2 separate regions of the Homo sapiens genome follow, and region 2 is linked to region 1. The links are contacts of gene promoters, found by promoter capture Hi-C in blood cells and fetal thymus (Javierre and others, 2016). All regions are on one chromosome and are shown on one strand. The core of a region is centred on a gene start or on the middle of the fragment in contact, and the rest is flanking DNA. Distances in the headings are between cores, read along the strand shown. Region 1 holds the start of GPC1-AS1 (GPC1 antisense RNA 1). Region 2 has its middle 62 kb from the start of OTOS.

Region 1 (6,889 bases), core at 1,132-3,631:
TCTCGCTGGTGCAGCAGGTGTAGCCCTGGGGACAGATCCGCAGGTGCTCACCTGTGGGGAAAGGCCAGTGTGAGGGAGAGGGGCTGGGACAGCACTGGGAGCCAGGAGGGCACCCTCAGGCTCTCCTGGGCAGGATGGCAGACCCAGGGTGGAGCACAGCTCAGGGGTGGGCCAGCCTGGGGGGTGCCCTGGGTGAAGGCAGAAGTGGTCGGGGTGTGGAGGGAGGAAAAGGCCTGGCTTCGGTCCCGTAGCTTCCCACACGTGACACAAGAGCACGGCTGCCTCTACAGGGCAGGAGGCCCCTTGGGCAAGTCCTGCCCCCCAGCCTGCTGTCCCAGCAGCTGCAAGCAAAGAACTGGCCTCAGGTTCCTGTGTGCAAGTGTGGAGAAGGCTCCCAGGCCCGAAAGGCACCCCTTGCCTGGGCCCATGTCTGAGGATGGGGAAGGAGGAAGGAATCCAATCCCCCTCTCTTCCCACACCAGCCCTGGGGGGCACCAAGCTCCCACTGCAAGGACGGCAGATCCCACCAACAGTGGGCTGGTCAGAGGCAGTGGCCCTGCAGGACCCCAGGCACGAGTCTGGTATGGGGGCAGGTGTGCTCTGGTGCAGCTGGCAGGCCCCATGAAAGGGTCATTGGACCATGCCCCAAGCCCTGCAGGGTGCACCCTGTGCCTCCTGGTGTCCTTGTGGAGTCCCCTCCTCTGCAGCCTGCCATGAGCTACTCTGCTCCAGCGTCCGAGGCAGTGACAGCGGCACTGCCATCAGAGACAGCTTCACCTCCTTGTGGGGAGTGGGGACAGGACAGGCTTTGAGTCAGCTCTCAGCCCTGCTGTGCACACCTCAGGGCCCACCTGGAATGGGTGTGTGGCATCAGGAAAAACTGCATTTTTTAAAGGGTGTGCATCGCACTGTGATGAAGGCTGCCGCAATCCTCATTTTATTAACCAGAAAACCGGGGCTTACAGGGATGAGGTCTCGTCCCAGCTATACAGTGAGGGGGCAAGTGGTTCCGGCTGCCTAAGCTCAGGACTCCACACTGACGGGGCCACACTGTTCCTTCTGGGCCTCGTCCCCCGCCTCTAAGGCCCTCCTGGTGCTGGCCTAGGTCAGGCACAGTGGAGAGGTGGAAGCAGGAGCCTGGCTTGGTCAGAGGGGTGGGGTCAAGGGGGGGCGTTGTCAGCAGGAATTCCAGCAACTTTCCTCAGGACTGCCGCCTCAGGGGCCTGTCTCATCCTGTTCTGGGACCCTGGGCCAGGGTGGCTGGAATGCAGCAGGTCCTGCATTCTTTTACGCCCTCCTGAGGGTCAGCAGGAAGTGAAGGCCAGGCCAGGGAGGAGAGGCAGGAGAGGGAGCCAGGACCGGGACCGAGGGCGGGGTCAGCCCGGGCAGAGGCACCTGGCTCGAGGCTGTCCTGGGGGAGCTGGCAGCAGCTCCAGCCCTGCCTGGAGGTGGGAGCAGGGATCTGTAGCCCCACTGCAGGCAGGGCCTGGAGCAGCGCAGGCAGTGCCCTACCCGCTTACTGCAAGAGAAGTCACCCCTCAGGCCTGGGGTCCAGGAAGCCCTTACCCACTAGAGGCCATCTGGGGTGGGGACCCAGGACTAGGTAACTACCCAGAGGTTGAATGCCTGGGTCAGACTGAGTTTGCTGATCTTCCGCACCCTCTAAGTACACACACTCAGGGAGGAGCCCGAGACAAGAGAAGGGAACAGAGAACCCGAATCCGGGCTTGGGCGGCTGCCGCTTGGCCCCTGTAGCCTCTGTGCCTGCTGACATGACAGCAAGGAGACAGGTTGTCAGAGGGGCCTGGGAGAGCGAGGGAGGGCCGAGGTAGGGGTTCTTATCCTGGAGCGCTCCCTCCTTGCCCTCTTTTCCTGTCTGAGTTCTGGAATGTACTGATGCAGGGGGCTCTGGCTTGAGCTAGAGGGGGAGGGAGTCCTCCGCAGGGGCTGCAGGTCCAGGGATTCCCCAGGGCCTGGACTTACATGTGCCCATGCTGCAGACAGAGCGGGAATGGCAAGTGCACCTGCGCCCCCCGCCCCTCCTTACCTCCAGATGCCTGCTGGAGGGGGAGTTGGGGGTCCAACAGAGTCTGGGGCCAGGAGGGCCTTGTGGGAGCCAGCTGGGGTGAGGACAGAGCCCGGCTCTGAGAGCCCTGGGGCCTAGTAGAGAAGGGGTGCTCCTTCCCCACTCCTCACATGGGTGGGAAGGCGCCCTCAGGCAAGAAGACTGGGACACAGGTACACTCGCCAGGGACCATCCTTCACTCTGCAGCCTTTATTCACTGATGGGATTCTGCCCCAGTCCCACCCCCGTGGGGGCAGGATTTAGAGCAGGAACCGCCCCTCCGGGTCCTTTCCTGGGGCCTGTGCCAGGCTGAGCAGACTCAGGAGGCGTCTCTCCGAGGGTGTGGGCTGTGATGGGGCCCTGTGCACCCATCCAGGCTGCCCAGACCAGGAGAGCACAGGTCAGCCGGACACATGATGGTAATGGGCTGGGCAGTGGGAGGGAAACGTGCCTGGGGGAGGGGGTGGCAGGTGCCAGCTGAGCTTCCCGGTGACACACCCTGGGCTCAGCTGAGATGGGCTCAGCTGTGACGGGGCACCCAGGCCAGGCTGGCTGGGCCACAGGAACCGAGTGAGCTGGTCCAAGACTCAGGACTAGGGCTCAAGCACTCCTAGGGAGGAGGGTGGGTGGCGTCCCCCGCCGGCTCCTCCTGTGCCCCTCCCTCGCGAGGTCCCGGCGGACCCACTCCCCAGCCCCCACCACGCAGACGGGAGAGGCTGACGAGAGGCATGGAGAGGTGAGGCCCGAAACACCCGTAAGATATGGGAGCTCCCCCCACCTGCAGGTTCTGAGGGGCTCCTCGGCGCCGTCAGCCACCTCTCACACCCCCTCACGGCCGCGCACCGGCCCCCGCGCCTCAGCCTCCCCCGCCGACCCCTCAGCCCCGCCCGGCCAACTCGCCCAGCCGGCCCGGCGACCTGCGTTGTTCCAGCTGCCCCAGCACAGCCCCCGTCCCTCCCTCCCTCCTCGGACAAGCACGGGAGTGAAGACACGGAGCCAGAGCTCGGGCGCCGGCCTGGGAGCCCCCGGCAGGCTGGACGCAAGGCGGGCGAAGGCCTGGGAGCCTCGGGCAGGCTGGATCGAGGCGGCCCCCTGAGGCCCGCTGCAGGCTGGACGCACGGCAGTCAAAGGCAGGAGGCCTCCCGCTGGCTTCCTTCTGCGGAGCTCCGGCCCGGCGCAGGCCGGGGCCACAGGTTGTGGTCCTGGACATGAGATGGCAGAGGCCGGCTCTGCAGAGTCCCCCTGCAGGGCGGCAAAGCAAGCCCCCTCCTGGAAGAATGCCAGGGGCTGGGGCCTTTCTGAATGGAGAGCAATGTGCCCAAGACCAGCTGTCATCTTAAATCTCCCCACCCAGGGGCCTCCCCACCCCCAGGGGCCTCCCCACCACTTCTCTCAGCTCAACACCTGGGGATAGAGAGGCCTCAGGCCAGGAGGGAACCCTCCCCATGTCCCTCTCCCTCTCCTTCCTGGCCTTTCTCCTCCTCCAACCCAGAGGGAGGCATTTTCCAACCTAGGGGGTGAGTCCCGGCAGCCCATCCCCTTCCCCCCGTGCAGGGAGGCATCTGGGCCCTTCCGGCCCACCCCTCCCTCTGGCCCTGGGGCTGCTCAGGTCAAGGTCACCGGGCCTGCTCCCCGCTGGGCCAGGGACTGGACCCTCTCTTCCCTGATCCCTGGGCTGAAGTTGCTGTAGCCGACCCATCCTTCCACAGCGCTCCCCTCCCTCAGTCACTGGGACACTTCCCTTCCCCAGTGCTCTGAGGATTTTTTTGGGGGGGAAGGGGATTATTTGTTTAATGGCAGATTCATCCCCCACCTCAAACCCAGAGTCTCCAGTTCCCAGGCTCCTGCTCCTCAGGTTAAAGCACAGAGCTCTTGCTCCCTGGCTCGTAGGCAGCTGCTGTCTCGTTCCATCTTCCCCCTCCCGATCCTGACGGTTCTGGACCACCCCACTCTGCTGCTCCTCACTAAGCCCCCACCAGCCTTAACTTTGGATACCTTTTAGGTCATGCATTCTCGTCCCCTGCTGACATGTCCCCACCCCGCAGTTTCCTCTTGGTCATCAGCACCTTCACCCCAAAGCTTTAGGCGAGACTCCCATCCTGACAGTGGCCCCCATCCCCAATGATGGACCCAGACCTCATTTGTCCAGACCCAGCCTGGCAGCTGCCCGTGACCAGTGGCTCTGGAGCCCTCCCAAGGAGAATGCAGAGAGATGATGGCGCCACGCCACGCCCATCCCTCCAGAAGCTTCCACGGCTCACACAGGAGGTGCAGACTGTAAAGCCGGCTTTATCCACCTTTACAGCCTCGTCCTAGACACTCAGTGTCAACAGACTCGAATGCCTAAGGTACCGGAATTTGGCGTGGACAGTCAGCCTGCATTGCCTCCCACGGTGCTGGAGTAGGGCTGTGTGCAGAGCTCCAGGCACCGCAGCCCCCCAACACGCAAGGGAAGAGCCTAGGCCTCCCCGCTCCTGCCCTCTACTCAGCTCTGCACCCGGCAACGGGGCCTTCCTGGCTGGCCGATGGCTGCGAAGGCTTTCCCCAAGCCCGAACCCTCTTCTCGAAGCCTGCCCCAGCCCCTGGCCCATCTGCTCTCGGACCCCAACCAGCTCCGGTGGCTGTGGCATCCTCCGGCACGTCCAGCAGCCTCCTGGGGTGAGGGTGCACTGGACAAACGACCCAGGGGGTTTCCTGGGGACCACCCACTGCCCAGGCTGCAGAGGATCTTTTCCTCACTTTTGCCCCATCCTCTAAGAAGCCTGCGCCCCTGGCCAGTCCCTGTCCGCCTGGGCTCCTGACGTCTGAGCCAGAGGCAGCCTTGGCCCCACCTGCGAGGTGGACCGGCCACGGCATCTCAGCTCCTCGTCAACGGCATCCACGGCCCCCAGACTCACCCCATCGTGCTTCCCTCCCCTCCCCACACCCCTGCCGTCTGCCCGAAGCCCCCCCGCCACCATTTCACCCAAATGACAGCGTCGCCAAGGAGCCCCTCCGCCGCCGCAGAACCTCCGCCGCGCACTGCGACCCGAAACCGAGGGGCGTCGTAGGGACACCTCTGCCCCGGGTGGGAGGGTCCGCGCCCCAGGCCGGCTAAGGCTCCTGTCACCCGCGGCTGCTTGCGAGGGCGACAGGCGTGAAACCGGCCCCGGCGGCGGAACAAAGGCTCGGCGGCACCGGCGGCAGCGTCGCCGCCCTGGGGGTCCCGGGCGCCCCGATGCCAGTCGCCAGCCGCCGCGGCCAGGGACGAAGACGGCAAACCGCGCAGCCGGAGCGGGTGCGCAGGGGTCTGGACACGCAGCAGCGCCGGCGGCCCGGCGAGGAGGGGGCACTGGTGCAGTGGGCGCGGCGGGGAGGGAAGGGGGCGGGCGGGGAGAGGGGGCTGCGGCGGGCAGGCGAGGGGAGGGGGGCGCCGCGATTGGCGGGGAAGGGGCTTGTCGCAGCGGGTGCGGCAGGCACGGGGGTGGGGGAGGGGGCTCGAAGGGCTGCGACGGCCCGGGGAGGGGGATGGGCCTGGCGGAAGAGGAAGGGGGGCCCCGGGGCGGCGGCAGGCGATGCGGGAGCGGGGCGGGCGGAGGGAGCGGGGCGGGCGGAGGGAGCGGGGCGGGCGGAGGGAGCGGGGCGGGCGGAGGGAGCGGGGCGGGCGGAGGGAGCGGGGCGGGCGGTGGGAGCGGGGCGGGCGGTGGGAGCGGGGCGGGCGGTGGGAGCGGGGCGGGGACGCCGGGATGCGGCCCGGGAGGGGTAGGGGTAGGTGCAGCTGGGGCGACGGGTGGGGTGGGACTGGGGACGGGCCACGGACTCCCGACAGGAGGGGCGGAAAGGGGATGGGGCTGCGGCGGCCAAGCGGGGCAGGACGGAGCGGAGGATGGGACAGAGGCGGTGGGGACGAGGAGCGGGTGGAGATGGGGGTGGCGCGCCTGCGGATGCGGGTACGGTGGCGCTGCGGGAGAGGTCCTCGGGCCTGGCTTCCAGCGCGGCGGCGGACGCGGGACCCCCTTCGCAGCGGCGGCTCCAGCGGCTCCGGGCGGCGCGCGGGCTCTGGGTGCAGGTGCTCGGGCCGGGGAAAGGCGGCGGAGCGGGGCCGGGCGGAAGGGCTCGCAGGAGGCGAAAAGCCAGCGGGGGACGAGGGCGGGCTGCGGTCCGCCGGGCGCGCGGGAGACTCTGGCCGCAGCCACCCCGGGCAGCGCCGCAGCCGCACTGGCGCGCACGGCCGAGGGCGGTGGCTCCCGGCGCGGGGACGAGCGTCCTCCCGCAGCCCCCGCCCCGCCGCGCTCGGCACCGCCCCCGTCTCCCTGGAAACCGCAGGCGGCCGCCCCGGCCCCTCCGGCCAGGTCCCCGCCGCCCTGCGCCCGCCTTCCTGCCCGCCGCCGAGGCCGGGCCCCTCCCTCCCGCCTGCGGGTGCTGCTCCTGTTCTCCGCGGGCAGTCCGGGCCTCCTAGGCTCCCCACTGCAGCTAAGCGGGCCCAGGCCTTGGTGCAGGGGCTCCTGGGTCTCAGCAGGGCCGGCGCTCGGGGGAGCCGGGGCCCCTCCCCGGAGGGTAATGGGGGCGGGGTGTCGGGTTTCTCTCTGTGCTGAAGGTGGCAGCTGACCACCGCTGTCCTCACGCAAAGCTGCCATGGTCATTCCACATCCTCTACCTGCCCCCTCCAGCCCCCAGTCCAATGGCACCCGGGCCTTGACTCCAGACCCCCCTGCCCCTATATCCTGACCTGCTTTCCCTCTGACATACCAAACCCAACAGGCCACATCCTTCCACCAAGTCTCCCACCCAGGTGCCCCCAGCCTGGGAGGTCTATGCTGTGCGCCTCTGGCCCCTCCTTGGACA
Region 2 (6,889 bases), core at 2,772-5,271, 250 kb after region 1:
CCCCTCTGAATGGCTTTGTTCTAAACAACCATATTGTTGTATTCACGTGTTTAGATGCAAGCTGGAGAGTCTTCATTCTTGATGGTAAACTCATCCCCCTATAAGGGCAAACATTTTTATTTTAAGAACTGCCAGGAAAGCTCCTCTTGGTTAGAAAGTGGTTTTTTTTGTTGTTGTTGTTTTGTTTTTTTTTCCCCAGAACAATTCCTGAAAGAATCCCCAGCAGGTGGGAAGGAAGTCTGCAGCTGAGTAGCTCTGACACTTGAGCTGTCTTCCCCAGCCACTGCCCATCCCTCTGTGCCCAGGGCGCACCACAGACTCACACAGAAGCTGGCCTGGGCTCTGACCCTGTGCAGCTCTGCCAGCAGCTGGTCCTCCTGGGAGGGGCGGGGCAGGTGTGGGCATGGCCTGTGGTGATGACAGCAGTTTTAGTCACTGCTCGGGATTTTCCCTTTGGGTTTGCAGAACCAGAGATGCTGTGAAAGTGTTGCTCACAGGGAAGAGAAGGTTGGCCTTTGGCTGAAACAGCTTCTAGTCACAGGCTTCCTGGGGGCTGTCAGTCTCTTTTTCCCTCTCCCTCCTTCCCTCTCTCCCTTTCCCTCTCTCCCTTTCTTTCCCTCTCCTCACTCTCAGCCCACACCTCACACAAACACAGCTGAGTATGTAGTTGCTGCAAACAATGAAGCTCCTTCCTTCTGAAGAAGGAGGTCATGATGCCGACTTCATTTGGGACATTTTCTCAGGGACAGCGTCCACCCGAAGTCTGGAGGCAGGAGCTCCCTCATCCTCTGCTAGAGCCAGGGCTGACATCCCTGGTAGCTGCTTAGCCCTGCTCCCACCCCTTGGCATGGATGCTGCGGCTCCTGCCAGGGAGGTCAGGAGATGCCCTTGGAGCCAGGCTGATAGGCACAGGCTCTGGGCAGCCTGTGCTTTGCAAAAAGGGCCAGGATCACAGATCATGCTCAGGAGTGTGTGTTTTGCTCCAGGAAATGGCACAGCCTGGGGGAACACTGAGAAGGACAGAGGAATGTCTGTGCTTCTGTTGAGGAACACGGCTGGTATATGCAAGAAAGTCAGACGGGAGAGGAAGAAGCCAGAGGGGAGGATGGCGGCAAGTGTGGATGAGGACAGGGAGGCTTTGGGTTGGGGGTGGTGACAAGGGGTGGGAAACAGATGGATTTGGGAGCTGAGACTGGCAGCCTTGGCCCTGAGGGTGGGGGAGAGGGAGCACCCCTTGAGAAGTGCCGAGGACTCAGGAGGCAGAGCCGGGACAGATGGAGCCAGGACCCTGCCATCACACAGCCGACCCTTGAGGCCCAGTACAGCAGGACACGCTCAGGGGAGCATGGGGTGAGGATGGGGCCAAGCCCAGAGGCACAGAGCACAGGGCCTCTATTCAACCCGGCCCCAGACCAGAGTCCGAGAGTGTCCTGAGCTTCGGGCATGACAGAGCCCTGACCACGCGTGAACTCGGTTTCCCCTTTGCACTAAATATAGGAGTGAAGGCAGTCACAACTTCCACGGCCCCTGTTCCAGCTCTGTTCAATTATTCAAGGCTGGTTCCATTAGGGACAATCACATTACATAGGCAGTTGGAAGAGGAGCCAACCAGGTAAAATTGGAGGTTCAGCTTTTAGAGCATCAAAGGGAAATGCTGAGAGGGAAGGAGAATTACCAGCATTACCAGGGGGAGTCGGGGTTTTGGATAATCCCCTGCTATTTCCTCCCCAAGAAAGGCACTGGAAGGGGCAGAAGCAGGCCCGTGAGCTGGCTGTGCTGGGAAAATGGCGGGCCGGGTGACCACTGGCCCTGCTGACCGGAGCTCAGGGCCCCTCCCATTCCAGAAGCCCTGGCTGGGCACCATGTGGAGGGTGTGGCACCTACACACTTCAGCTGCACTGGAAGTCGCCTGTGACGTGGCCCCTGATCTCAGGACCCAGGCGGGTCCACAGAGCAGAGCAGCTCCGGCTCCTAGGAGTCCCTCAGCCCTCTGCTTCCCTGCCCTCTCAGTCACGGCCCCCAACAAGAGGTAGGTTCACTTCCCACCTTCTCCCCAGCTTGGATTCCATTCCTCCAAGTTCGGAGGTTTCCAAGCTTGGACTCTAAAGATGCAAGTCACTGACTTCATTTTGATGGATGAGTGAGCCTGGGGGAAGAAAGTCGAGACACAGGCCAGGCCCAAGCAAGGAGCTGGGTACCAGAGATGACAAAGGACCGGGAATCCTTGTGCTAATTAGAGCAAGTCGGCGCTTCAGCGAGGAATGTGGAGTGACGTCACATGAAAGCTTTCTGCTTGAATTATTGCCAATTTAATTTCTATGTAATTAACAGCAGGGCATGCTGGAATTAATGAGATTCCCCAACACATTTCTCTGGCTCTCCCCTCCCCTCTACGCTCCTTCCCTCCAATACTTCCTTTCTCCTTCTGGTCCACACAGGCTCAAAGCAGAAACCGACAGCTGTCCTGGATGGCTGACCACCTTCGCAGAGGCCATGCCAACACCCGCACGCATCTGCTGTGTGCCTCAGGCCTTCTTGTGCCCTGATGGACATTCCCCACATGCTGCAGACCACATGGGACACCCAAGGGGCTGGGCATCCAGCCCTTCTCTCTTGTTAACACAGAGTCCTGTGCAGGCAGAGGGAGTCTCTTCCTGGCCCCTTGTAATGCCCAGCATTTTGCACTAGCCCTGTGCAGAGCGGGGGCTCAGTGAATATTCACATATGACAGCTTACCTGGCGGTTCTCAGCATGGTCTCTGCTCAACACCACCTGCCTCTCCACCTGCCCGCACTCCTGCCCTTCCTCCAAGTCTCAGCTGCCACCTCCTCCAGGAAGCCTTCCAGATTCCAGCTCAGGCCAATGACCACCCTGCACCCCCACTGCACCCTGGGAACTTTACTGCACCCTGGGGATGGTGCCATCCTGTGACCCTTCCCTTCCCAGAGTCCAGGCTCAGGTCTTGGTCATCTCCGGAGCTGGGCTCCTCCCAGAGGCCCTAGTGAGGGAAAAGGGCATGGCCAATGGTGTGGACAGACATTGTCCAGTGTGGAGCAGGTGTGAAGTGAATGCCAAGGGGATACTGGGGCTTCACCCCCAGCCTCTGTTCTCAGACGCCCAAAACCACAGCAGCAGCCCGAGAGATGGAGGGACCAGAGCCAGCTCCCTCTGCAAGGGTGAGGTGGAGGGAGTGTGGCCCCCGCAGAGCCAGTCCCAGCTGGCGTTTTCCCAGCTGCCAGGGGAAACCTTCTTATTTGGTGTCTATGGGTCTCTTGTTATTCTGGTTTACAATTTAATAGCTCCTTTGAAAAATTGCTTTATTGTTTTTATGTTTTAAATGATCTTTGTTCACTGTAACTTTTAGAAAGTCACAAATTCAGAAAGAGCAAGAAAAAATGGAAAAAAGAATCAACTGAAATTTCACCTTCCAGAGAGGAGTTTGGTGTATTTCCTTGCAAACTCTACATTTTTTTTTGAGAATGGAATTATATGACTTACACTATTCTGTCACTTACTGTTTGCATTGGTGCACAGAAATTATCTTGGAGAATAGTCTCTGTTGATCAATATAGATACAACTTCCTTTCTCTCTCACTCCACACACACACACACACACACACACACACACCACAGTTTTCCATTTATTGTGAAGGCTGTAATAAATAATGGATGTGCACTGGTTTACTTAACCAACTTCATTTTGATGGACACTACTTTGGTTCTAGTTATTTAGGATTTAAAAATAATGCTGCAGTGAGCATGTTTGTATTCTTGTATGAGTGCTTCTGGAGAATAAGTTCTCACAGTGGCACTGCTGGGCCAGAAGCCTGCATGAATTAGCGTCCGATGGGCGTCCTCATGCCTCTCCCTGTCAGCGGTGCCCTGTGTGTTTCCATCCATGACACACAGGCAGGCATAGCCCCTCGCCCAGCCGTCATCAGGCGATGCCAACCTCTGTCACACAGGGCGCTCTGGGAAGCAGAAAATGCCTGCTCACTATTTCCATTTGAATTTTTAATTCTTCAGTGAGATGATAATATTCTCATGTGTTTGTTGACTATATTTCACGGCCAAAGAAGCAAACTAGATGTTTTGCAGCCTCACAAAAACTACTTTTAAATAGGTAAAAGGGTCATACATTTAAAAAACTCATGGAGTACTGCTGTGTAATATTATGTTGAGGAGGGAAAGTCCCTTCTTAGCCTAACAAGGCCAGAAAGTATTTTTAAAAAACACCAAGTTGATTGCATTTTTTAAGTCAGTAAGGTAAAAAAAAAAAAAACCTCATAAAGAAGCTGAAAGGGAAACAATAAGGGGTTTCCAATGTACATTCAAACTAATATAAAATTACAAATTTAAAAGCCTGCATGCATTAGCGTCTGATGGGCGTCCTCACGCCCACCAGATAAAATGGTAAAAATCCAGCGGAATGAAGGGAGAAGGGGCATGAACATGCAATTGATAAAGTAGGCAATTTGCCTCCTTTGCCCCTTTCTCAGGAGGCTCAAGGAGGATAAGCCAAGAGACCAGGGGCTGTGGAGGACCAGGGCTCCGTTCTCCCCAGACAAAGGCAGAAGGAATTCCTGGGAGGACGGGAGGTCCTGGGGCAGCAGCTCTAGAACAGGGGCATGGACAGCTCCAGGAGCAACAAGCAGAGAGCCAAAGCTCTGAGTCTATGCACTCACGACAGGTACATAGAAATTAAGCAGACAGAGCAAGGCAGTGATTAACCATGGAAGAAGATCTGTGTCAGAAAAGCAGCCATGGGGAATATTTGCAAAGAGTAATGCAAACATTGAGTGCAGAGTTAACCCAGCTGTGGTCTAACTCAGTGCGGGTCTGGTGGGAAGGCAAAGTGTGGTGTGGGAAGGGGAAGATGGCGCAAGGTGGCTGAACCTTTAGCTTTTGGAGTAAAAATGGGGGCAACATCTGATATTGAAAATTCAAGTCAGTACCGCCATGTAGCCAGTGACAGGAATGGCTAGAGGCTGGGAGAAGCTGCAGCTGGGATTAGCCGGGGGGTGGAGGGATTGAGTCGGCACAGCTGGTTTGCAGCAGAAGCCTCGCTACCCTCAGCCCTCACTGGCCTGTCCTCCCCTGCATCCGGAGCAGCTGGGCGTCGCCGTGCAATGGGCTCCTCCCGTGGTATGTGAGTGCATCCCAGGCAGGCCGGTGGTCAGAGGTGGCCTGTCCCTTCCCACAGTGCAGCTGGTGAAGCCCCGCACTGACCCGGCGGACGATGAGCAGGGTGGAGAGCACGGGCTGGAAGCAAGGCCTTGAGGAAGTAACGCCTATCCAGCGACATGGAGGTTTTAGTGTGGGAACTGTGAAGAAATAGTTCATGACACTAACAGCATAAAGAAAAACAAGTGGTATTTTTAAACAGATGCAAGCACAAAATGCATGTTTGACAGCTGTGTTAGTTATCAGTGCTCATAACGAATCATCCCAAAACTTAGCAGCTTTACACAATAGACATTTGCTATCTCACAGCATCTGTGGTCAGGAAGCTGGCCTGGAGAGAGAGTGAGAGAGCTTGCCCGAGATAGACGCTGCAGCGTTTTCATAAGCTGTGCCAGTCGGGTTTTCACCTCCACCATCGCTTCTGCTCTGTGCTATTGTTAGAAGCTCATCATGAACAGCCACGCTCAAGGGAAGAGAACTCAATTCCACCTTCCACCCTTCAGGAGGGCATTTCAGATAATCTGTGGGCCTACTTTTAAAACCATCACGCCGACTTTTGGTGTTAAAGCTTCTTGTGAGAAGTAGAAAATGAAGAAATCTTTCTCAATATAATGTGAATTATATATTCCATTATTAAAAACCAGCAGCAAGTGCCCCACTAAATGTAGCACACGGTGAATGATGATGGGAGTGAAGGCAAGGTCTTGGGAAATGACTGGACCTGGATTGAAGCCATTGCTTGAATTCTATTAGTGTGGCTTATGTGGTCACAGGTAGACCTGAGAATAAAAGGAGGTGGGGACCAGACCTCCTCTCTTCAGGGGAAAAGACTGTCTTTGTTCTGGGGGAGACATTCTTGTCCCCTTGTGGGGTCCCTACTCAGTTAGGTAAGGACCCCTTAGTGACATCATGTCAAGGCAGTGTCTGAAAATCCCTGGGAAGCCCCAGGGGTCCCTGAGAAGTGGACTGCTGGACCCCGAAGTGTGCTGCTGAGGTGCTCTTGTTCTCCTGCCCGGGTCTGCTGGGGGGCGGGAAGGCAGCCGGGCAAGGTGAGGAGTGGATTTCCTGCCATCGATCACCCTGCAGGAGATGAGGACTGGCCACGGCGGGCAGAAGGCCATGGAGGCCTGGGCCTTGGTTCACACGAGCTGGCCCCTGGAGCCAGGTGAGGGGCTGCCCGGGGATGCCTCATGTGAGGGGTGCAGAGGGTGGGTGGGCCTGGGTGCCCCGTGTAGCCACAGCTCTCAGAGCTGCCAGCCAGGCTGGATCCACTCCCTTCCCTTGTTCCGGAACCTGAAGCATTCAAATGTTCCTTGAAACAAAGTGACCCAACTCTCCCACAGGGGTTCCAGCCAAGGCTTGGGGGTGTGGTGGAAGCCCTCAGATCCAAGCCATAGCCTCAGCCCTGCTGTGCCAGCCACAGCTCCTTCCCAGTTAGTTCAAAGCCTAGGGTGAGGAATGGGAAGCCGCTGGAAATGCCACGAGTTTGTAGCAGTTTGCAGAGCCCTGTGACCGTGATGAATGGGTGATGGCAGGGGCAAAAGATGGGCATTGGCCAGGCAGGACGGTGGGGGAGGGGGGAAGCAGGGCTTCCCCGACTGCACCAGCAATGTCCTGGCTTGGACCATTCTTTGTTGTGGGGGCTGCCCTGCACACCCTGCCCTCTACTTGCCAGATTCCAGAACACCCTCCTCCAAGGTGTGGC

The links. The method cuts DNA at HindIII sites, captures the fragments that hold promoters and counts their contacts. A CHiCAGO score of 5 or more calls a contact.
Region 2: a fragment that was not itself captured here is called in contact with the fragment with the promoter of GPC1-AS1 in region 1 in 1 of 17 cell types (endothelial precursors); the score reaches 5.2 in endothelial precursors.

What each region holds. Positions count from the first base shown.
Region 1 is chr2:240,452,192-240,459,080 of GRCh38, reverse strand. GPC1-AS1 (GPC1 antisense RNA 1) reads left to right here and starts at 2,381. Exons shown (of 3, transcript NR_161169.1): 1 at 2,381-2,484. GPC1 (glypican 1) reads right to left here. Exons shown (of 9, transcript NM_002081.3): 2 at 1-51. MIR149 (microRNA 149) reads right to left here and starts at 3,080; the gene lies at 2,992-3,080. RefSeq lists enhancers at 1-525, 526-1,177, 3,130-3,780 and a silencer at 6,276-6,325. The HindIII fragment of the contact is 6,703 bases long and covers 1-4,146 here.
Region 2 is chr2:240,199,061-240,205,949 of GRCh38, reverse strand. No RefSeq gene overlaps it. Among named protein-coding and RNA genes, the nearest start is that of OTOS, 62 kb to the right of the region's middle. RefSeq lists enhancers at 1-606, 5,113-5,614. The HindIII fragment of the contact is 3,467 bases long and covers 2,288-5,754 here.